Regions from separate parts of the Homo sapiens genome. Here region 1 is linked to region 2. Evidence: promoter capture Hi-C in human tissues and cell types (Jung and others, 2019). All regions are on one chromosome and are shown on one strand. Each heading gives the region's core, a stretch centred on a gene start or on the middle of the fragment in contact. The rest is flanking DNA. Distances are from core to core; before and after follow the strand shown. Region 1 has its middle 76 kb from the start of ANXA1. Region 2 holds the start of ZFAND5 (zinc finger AN1-type containing 5).

The links. The method cuts DNA at HindIII sites, captures the fragments that hold promoters and counts their contacts. A contact is called where the count stands out against the background at its distance.
Region 1: a fragment that was not itself captured here is called in contact with the fragment with the promoter of ZFAND5 in region 2 in 1 of the 25 tissues and cell types used here (dorsolateral prefrontal cortex).

Annotation. Positions count from the first base shown.
Region 1 is chr9:73,073,375-73,077,800 of GRCh38, forward strand. No RefSeq gene overlaps it. Among named protein-coding and RNA genes, the nearest start is that of ANXA1, 76 kb to the right of the region's middle. The HindIII fragment of the contact is 7,031 bases long and covers 1-4,426 here.
Region 2 is chr9:72,361,788-72,366,679 of GRCh38, forward strand. It overlaps ZFAND5 (zinc finger AN1-type containing 5), which reads right to left and starts at 3,421. Exons shown (of 7, transcript NM_001102420.3): 1 at 2,909-3,421; 2 at 1,683-1,819. RefSeq lists enhancers at 2,424-3,127, 3,128-3,832 and silencers at 2,440-3,269, 3,280-3,659. The HindIII fragment of the contact is 11,173 bases long and covers 1-4,892 here.

The DNA of each region.
Region 1 (4,426 bases), core at 1,552-4,051, 710 kb after region 2:
TTGATGAATTTTTACAAGCTGAGAACTACCAGCATCCCAGAACCCCCTGTCCTCTGATTCCCCTTACAGTCTCTGGTTTCTGTGCTCCAAAGACAGCCATTATCCTGACCTCCAATGCCCATAGTTTAGCTTGTTTTTTAATTGTATATAAAGGGAAGTAAACAACACATGCTGTTTGTGCCTGACTTCTTTTGTGCCACACTGCATTTGAAGATTCGTCCATGTTGTGTTTGCAAGACCTGTTTCCATGTTGCATAGTTGCACTTCATTTATTCTCATTGTTGTAGAGTGTTCCGTTAGGTGAATATAGCAGTTTATGAGTTTGTTCTGCTACTAGTAATCACTTAGTTTCTAGTTTGGTTCTGTTATGAATAGTGCTGCTTGGGCATTCTTGTGCACATTTTTTGGTGAACATTCTTTGGTACACATTTCTGTTGACCATATAAACCTAAGACTGGAACCGCTGAGTCACGAACATTCATTTGTTTAATTTTTGAACTGCCAGCTAGTTTTTCAGCGTTGTTGTACCAATTTACACTCCTACCAGTGCCATAAAAGAGCTCTCTGGTTGTTCCACACCTTCTTCAACATGTGATATTTTCTGTCTTTCCCATTTTAGCCACTTTGATGGAAAACATATCCTTATTAAAGACACAGATCATGAAAAACATCCCTGACCTGATACCTTAAGTGAACTCAATTTTGGCAATGTTAGCTAGTTTATTCTTTCTTAATGACATGCATCTGGGACAGATTGAGTGCATTCATCCACTGAAGTCCTTCAAAAGTTAATGATCTCCCATTCTTCCCCACCTCCTACCAAATACAAATGATATTAGCTCACAGTTACCATGGCCCCCTGAGAAAGCTGTTATACCAGTACTTCTTTTTCATAGTTTCTTTCAGTAGAGATGCTATGGGATTTTCTCCATTAATCAGATCAAACCCTACATTTAAAATACATTTCAGTTATTACAATGTCTACATTTTGTTCATAATTTAAGAGTCATCTAAGAGTAGTGACTTATGTTTATCTTGTGGCATGCCACTTTTATGTTTTCCAGAATCCTATTTTTCATTGCCATGATTGGACTGAAAAACAGGATGTTTTTTTCTATCGACTCACATTTCTAAAATTCCTTCTTGGTCAAAAGTGCAAGTCTGTTGACCCTTTCAACTTTTGTTTGAAAGGGACATTTTTGAGTTCTTATTAATTATTTTTCATTGCCTTTGTGTTTCTTTTGCTCTGTTTTACTCTGTATCTTTTCGAATGAGTACCATTCTGCTTTTTATCTACTTATTTTTAAAATAAAGAATTGGAGTGATTTTTCATGCTTTTCTAGAAGTATCATTTCATTAGAAAGATAATTCTAGACAATAAAAGCTTGAGTGCTAATTGTAAAATAGTTTTATTGATAAAATTTGTAATTTCTCTTTCTGTTGCTTATACAGTTTGATAATCCTATGAATTCTACAGAAGGAATTCACATGTAATGATCCTTTAATAACTAGTGCCCGAGAAAAATAAACTTATTCTACAATTAATTTAATTTTCAACACTTTAAATATCTTTAAATTTGTTTCTTCGTTTTGTTTCTGGTATCTTTTGCCTTGCAGAAATATGTAACTTTAAAAGAGCCAAATATATCTAGCTTTTCCTTTATGGTTTCTGTGATTTCTGTCATACTTGGGAATATCTTTCCCATCTCAAATTTACACAAGTAAACTTCTAAATTTTCTTTCAATATTTTTCTTAGAGCAAGGATTCATTTTTCTTCTACATGGATAATCAAACATACAAGCATCGTTTATTAAATTAGACATTCTCACTAAGTTCAATTAAAATCCTATAACTACTAAATCTTTCTATGGATGCTCAGGCATATTTGACTAATGTGTTTACCTATTCCTGTGCTAAAATTATACACTTACCTTTGATTACAGTTACTCCATAGTTATTTTAGTATCTGGAAGTCTCCTACTTTGCCTTCTTGTTATTATTCAGTATTCATAAATTTCTTGACTATTTCTAGAGATATATTTTTTCACATACATTCTAGAATCACTTTATATTGTTCAACAGAAAAGCTTATTAAGATTGTAATTTAAGTTGCATAACATTTCTATAATAATATTAGAAGTAGTGACATTTCTATAATAGTAGTATCATTAGGAATATTTTATGTACTTCATTTGGATTTTATAAATTAACTTTTATATAAATCTTATGCTACTCTTGCTATATTTAAGTCTAAGAATTTTCACTTTTAGTCCCTATTATAGATGAATCTTTCTTTTTTTTCTTTTGCTTCAACCTTGCTATTGACAGAGAAAAAGTTACTGATTTTCTTAAGGTATACAAAGTTAATTCTAAGGCTTTTCAAGAGCTACTGGAAAGAGACGGAGACATCTTTATTCCTGGAAGAGAGATTTTGGCAAACATCCTGTCATGAGGAATCTGAGAATCACACAACATGAAGGAAAGTAGAATCTAAGGATGGAGATATGGCAGGTTCTGGAGCTATTATTTGAACTCCTAGAATAAGCCATATTTGAAACCATTACCAGTTATCCTTTACATTATTCCCTATGTTCATTTAATTTACGTAGGTTTAGGCCAGGAAGAGTGAGTGGCCCATGCTTGTAATCCCAGCACTTTGGGAGGCTGAGGTGGGCAGATCACCTGAGGTCAGGAGTTCAAGACTGGCCTGGCAAACATGGTGAAACCCCATCTCTACAAAAAAAAAAAAAATTAGCTGGGTGTGGCGGTATGTGCCTATAATACCAGCTACTCAGGAGGCTGAGGCAGGAGAATCACTTGAACCTGGAAGGCAGAGATTGCAGTGAGCCGAGATCGTACCATTGCACTCCAGCCTAGGCAACAAGAGCAAAACTCCATCTCAAAGAAAAAAAAAAATTAAGTTGGTTTAAATAGGTCTTATTCTTCATTGTTTACCAAATCAGATGGTGTGGAAATTTGAATTTGGCTTCCCCAGATAATTCTTATGCTAGTAATCTTCAGAAAAAATACCAGGATCAATACACTCTATTACTATCATGAAAATATAATGAAAAATAATTTAATGGTATAGAGTTGACCATAGGAGAGTTGCTTCAATGTTATCACAGATGTATAGGATAAAGCTGAAATTGCTTCATTAAAGAGCTGAATTTTAATAGTTACTGATATAATAAAAGTATAGGAGCCTCTAAATACAAAACTATAAAAATGAAATGAAGTAATTGTGTGAAAGGAAGATGAAGAACATTTATTCTATTGCTTGCGAAATATAAATATATCAAATTTATTTATATATCAAATTTACATAATATGGATTTGATATATTTATATTTCTCTTCAAATGGAGAACTTAGAAATTCACTAGGCAATCATTACTTTATTCAAGGCAATTTTATGAATTAAACAAGATGCTAATTATACTATCAATAGCATAACTGTGCTTTTTGACTCAAAGAAAATATAACTTGAACCCACAATGATGTGAAGTTTCTTCTATATAGATCTTTGTTTATCCTGCTGATTTGTTTCCTCATTATTGGCTTCTTAAGAAATCGTTGCTCAACTCTGATTTTGTGTTTCAGCTTTGAGTCACATTGAGACCAATGAACATCTTTCAAGTATTTGATTATATTTGTGATTATATGTAGGGAACTTCTTTTCTTCCTGTTGAAAAATGATTGGGACTCAAATAACAGTAGTACTGACCATGTATCACTCAGTGTGCCATAACATAAATTCTGCATCATTGGTCAATTCATTTATTCAATCTTTTATTTCACTCCACACCCATATGGGGTGACTATGATGCAGACATGTTTATATACACAGCAGAAACATCACTGGAAAAAAACAGACAAAAGTTCTTGCTCTCATGGAACTTAGATTCTGACAAAGAAAGATATCAAATAAACCTTAAACAAATATAAATACACTACAGATATATAAATTATGTAAAGTGGTGGTAAGTGCTGTGAAGTAATGTGTAGTAGAGTAGGGGGGATAGAGAATGATAGTGGAGAAGGGGAAGGATGCTCTTTCATATGAGAGTCAGGAAAATCTCTGATAAGGTGACATCTATTCATGGAGTTGTAGTGAAGGAGAAATCAAAATGGATATCTAAGGGAAACACCTTCCAGGCAAGTAAGACCCTGAGACAAGAATATTCTAAGTATATTCAAGGAATAGCAAGAAGGTCTAAAGGGCAGGATATGATATTCATTTTAAAAGTTTGCTCTGTTTGCATATGAGAATAGATTGTAGAAAGGCAAGTGTAAAAGGCTATTACACACTTGCAAGATGTTTACTGAGAGATGACATTCAGTTTAGTTTGCTGGCATGGATCAGGATTTAGAAAAGAGAATGAACCTGGAGGGACAATTTGAAGATATTCAGAATGACTCTGCA
Region 2 (4,892 bases), core at 2,171-4,670:
TTTAAAATAAAGTTGTGGAGGGTTTTCATGTCATCTTAAACATGTATAAGCATATGTACAAAAAGCATATTTGAGAGCATTTGCTTAAAGGAAAATTCGTGTGCTGTAACTTGTGGTCAGTCATTTTTTCCAACTACATACTAGAATACACTTTTTAGTGAGTTATTAAAAAACGATGTTTTAACAAGTATTAACTACCAAAATTAGAAGATGGGAGAAGGGGACTAACCAATTTTGACCTGGCCAGACCCCTGGTAATTATTCCCCAAAACATTTTATCTTCCCTTTTGTAAGTAAAAGTGCACCATACAAATATTAAGACAATCTAGCTTGTGTGGAGTGACCAAGATCCACAACTTACTTTTAACAACAGTATTAATTTAGTTGACACTGTCTCTTTAAATATTAACTGGAATTTAGCTGACTCATTTTGGAGCAGGGTAGTGTAAACATTTCAACATCACTTAGGAAGTTTATTAATAAACACTTTCAGCTGGGTTTTTAAATGAGCATAATAGGAGCAAAAAATGCTTTCAAATGATAAATATGTATGTATTTGCATGCCCACCACGCACAAAATATGTGTGAATGTTTGCCCTATGCATGAAAGTTGGGTCACTCCTTAAAACCAGTTTAAGTATGCTAGCTTACATTTTCTACACTGAGGCCCAGTCTCATGTGACATTGGCTTTAAAGTTTAAGGCCAAGCGATCAACCTACCTAAGTAATTTTAGTTAATCTGATTCTTAAAATATTTGTTTTAGATAAAATGGAGGATACTCCATCTAAAGATTTCACACACTCAGAGATAACAAAGTATTCCAACTTTGCTTCAGAGAACATGTCTACCTTCATTTCATTATAAATAACTTTCAACTGCGAGACACACAAGAGGTACCAGGACATGAGTCTTCTACATGGGTTCCCATCTTTTAGATTTTTTTCCCCTAGAAAGCCAGCTTTTAAATGCCATCACATGTGCACAGCTTGCTTTAATATTTCTCAGAAGCTCAGATCACATGGGAGGGCGCTTCAGCCTGTCACAAGGCTGCAATGTGACAAGCTGAGCTGGATGGAGGCTCTCACATAAAGCCTAGTCAACAGGGGCCTCTGAAATCAGCTTCTATTTATATCTCAAAGCCTGCCAACTCCTACACAACCCCAAGAACTAAGGATGCAGCGTTCATATATCTAACATAAGAAAACAAAAAAAGGGCTGCTAGTTTTTTCCTAATGTAGGAAAAACTACAGAACAATCTCAATCTAGAAGATGAAAGCATAGTCAAAGCTAAAATGGTCAAGGTTGTTGATAAAAAACTAAGCACAGTGGAGACAGTGTAAAAAAGAATCCTCATTTAGTGAGGATTTAGGGGATGAAGTGGGGGATGTGTGTTCCCATTAGGTATTGCATTCCCCTTGTATTTTAGAAAAAAATACCATTACTATTTATTGCCTTTAAAGTAATTAGCAACTTGAGCATGCACGTGTCAGCTCTATCAGGTATAGCTAGAATGCAGATTTTATAAAGTTTATGGCTTCCTCTAACTTACAGCTTAAAAAAACACCCGAGTGTAACTGAACAATTCTCCAATTCCAATTCTGAACAAAGAGCTTTTACACCTATGGAATACAGTTCTTTCAGGTGCACATGATGTGATGAGATGGCATGAATTCCCACTCACCTGGGAATGGAGACCTGAGTTCAAGTCTCTAGTCTGCCACTAAGTCAGTGACCTTGGGCAAGTCCTTACTTTCCAGATTTCAGTTCCCTCTTTGCCAAATGGAGTAGAATTGACTTTTAAAGGCTCCTTTTCAGGGCCTGGGAGATAGAAAACAGGAGACAACTACAAAGAATCCTTAATTTTTTAGGGGGGTGTGGGGAAACATTTTAACAAAAAACTTCAAAGATAAAATTGCAGTATTTTCACCAACTGAGTTCTGAAAGCCTACTCTTTAAAAAAAATCCTAAAAATAAGGAATAAAATACATTCGTTTATGTTTTTAGAAGTCTGTATCTAAATCCCAGGTTTAAGAACGGGGATGTGTGACCTATATGTTCCTTTATCTTGGTATCTCCTTAGATGCTATCCCTTAGGAGACACTCAATCAATAAAGATAATCCGACCCTTCCCCGAAAACACACCTCCACGGAGTGCGTGGAAAGCGAGCAAAAAATTTCACATTCATCAGCCTAAATGCACCAAACAAAGGAGGTGTTCCATTTCCTCCATGAAAACGGATCTCAGGATAAAAACGCAGCGACGTCGAGAAGCCCAAAAGACGACGCCGAGAACCCCCGGCCCCATGTTCCAATGGATTTTGGAACAAGTTCGGGTCCCACTGATACCCCATCCCCCTCTAAGCAAAGGCCTCACTCAATAAAGCCCAACAGGGCCCTCTCCGAAAACCACTGAGTCATGCAGAACAGCAGCTCAGCAGGCCCGGCCAGCCCTTCGCCTGCAGGCCCCACGCGGATCCCCGACCCCCGACCCCCGACCCCGAACGGCTCCTCTTAGGGGAGAGCTAGGGGGGGCTGCAACGGGCAGGGGGCGCGGCCGCCGCCTCGGCCTCTTTGTTTCTCTGGGTCGTGGTGCCCACGCCGGGCGCCGCCGCGGAGGCGAGCGGCCTAGAGGCCGGCCCCGCAGAGGCGGCACGCCGTGCATTGTTTCCCGACCGTGCTGTGGAGCGAGCCAGGGACGCCGGGAGCCAGGTCTCGGGCCACGACGACAGGATGACGCCTCCGTCTTTGTGCTTCCTGGGCTGGCGGGCGGGCTCCCCTCCCCCGGACGCCGCCATCCGCGGCCTGCTCCGGCTTCGCCATTGGCCCGCGGCGCCCCGGTCCCTTCACTCCCGCCCCCGGCCCGGCAACAAGGAGCCCGGCTCCCACCCGCAGCCCCGTATCACTCACCCTGCAGGGTCCCAAATGCGAAAGCCGGGTTCGCGCGCGAAGCCGGCACGATGAGGCCGGGCCGAGGCCTCCGGGAAGGCTGAGCCGGGCGCCCTGGTGCCGCCGCCGCGGGCCGGGAGCGGGTCGGAGCAGCAGGCGGAGGTGGCGCCGCCGCCGCCGCGGGGTCTTCCTTTGTTCCTGCAGCAGCGTCGAGCGTGGCCGGGACACGCCGGAGCTCGGGAAGTGGGAGGAGGGAAGCGAGGGGGGGCCGAGGAGGAGGTGGAGGGAGGACCGGCGGCCGCAGCGGCTAACGCTGCTCGAGGCGCTCGCCTGTCGTCGCCTCACGCCTCCACAGGCCGCAGGTTGGGCGGACGAGGAGGGCGAGCGGACCGCGCGCCGCGAGGCCTGGGGCCGTAAGGGCCCGCTGATGGCGCTCTTCGCCGCTCCTGCCACCGCCGGGGAAGCTGCGCGGCTCCCGGGAGCGAGCGAGCCCGCGTAGGAGATGCACACAGCTCCGCGTCCCGGCCGACTAACGCACTCGCCGCCCGGCGCCCGGGCTGTGAGGGAAAAGAGGGGGAGGGGGCGGGACCCGTGCGTCAGCGAAAACCCCGGCGGCGGCGGCGGCGGCGGGGAGCGCGGTGACGTCGCGGGCCCAAGGCCACGCCCCCGGTGCCCTGTCAGTAGGTCCAGGAGGCGGGGCCGAGACGGGTTGCTGTGCCTTCTCGCGGAGCCCAGCCACTGGCCTGGCAGTCGGCCCCTAGGGTGGAGCTGGGAAGAGCGAGTCCTGTGGAGGATGCGTTTCTATTTTTAACCCAATTGTCCGCCCTCAGCCTCCCTCCTTCGGATTTTCTCATTCAAACCCGTTTTTCGCCATCCTAGTTCTCACGCTTTGTCTCCAGCCCTGGGCAGACATTCCCTCCCCCAAGAATCGTAAGGATTCACCCCCAGAAAAGGAAAAGAATTGCCTTATGGCTTCGAGGTCTTTTCTGTTTATGAAACCTCCTCACTCCCCACACCCATTTTGAGCTCCGAAGTCCAGCCCGAGCGTGGCCCTGACGCAGCTGGCGGCGTGCGTTCGCTCGCCCAAGGTCACGGGTGGTTGTGCGGAGTGAGGAAACGCGCGGCCGCCCAGGGCTGCCAATGCCCCGGCGGCGCTGTTCTGAACAAACTGTTTTGGCCAGCCTGTGAAATCCCTGGAAATTGACGATTCCAGCAAAGCGTCGTGAACTGGGAAAGCACCAAATGTTCTACTCAAAAGCCGCGAAGGGACAAAACAAGCTAGACCCGAGGCCCAGATGAAGCGGGAGGAGGAGGCTTGCGAGAGGAAGTTCAAGGGGGGAGGTACTAGGCGGGCAGTTCAGGCACGAGGCACAGGTCCCCCATGGGTGAAAGGATGACTTTACCCGGAACACTGGGAACCTTTTCAGAGCACAAACAAAAAACATTTTCAACTGACCGCTCCAAGTGAATTTCAGTTCAACTCAAAATAACAAAATTACTAAGTCGGAAAGGACTTCTGAAATTTTCTAGTAAACAACGGTCTAACGAATACATAGAAATGATGTTTAGGGTTTATATTAGCCACATATAGAATGGAGAAGAGGTCCCTTCAGTGTTTCTCAAAGTTGGTAATCAGAAAAAAAATCACCTGGGGTGATTAAAGATTCCTACGCATCTCCCCTGGATATGGTTTTGGTTGTTCCGGGGTGGGAGCGGGGGTGGGGGGGGGCCCATATTGCGCTTCAGGTGGTCCTTATTTATAATCTGTATTTGGGGGAATGCTATACTGATAGCTTGAGCCACCACTGCCAAATCAAACAGTTCTCCGCCACAGTTAGCAAAGTACCTGGAGCATAACAACCTTTTGTTTTGTTTTTTAACAAATTCGGGTTTATTACTGTGATCAATTAATGTATTAGAGATTTAAGTAGTTTGGGTCACTGGTCCCACGACCACTGCAATTTATTTCCTTAAATTAGCAGATGAATTAGTAAAAAAAAAAAAA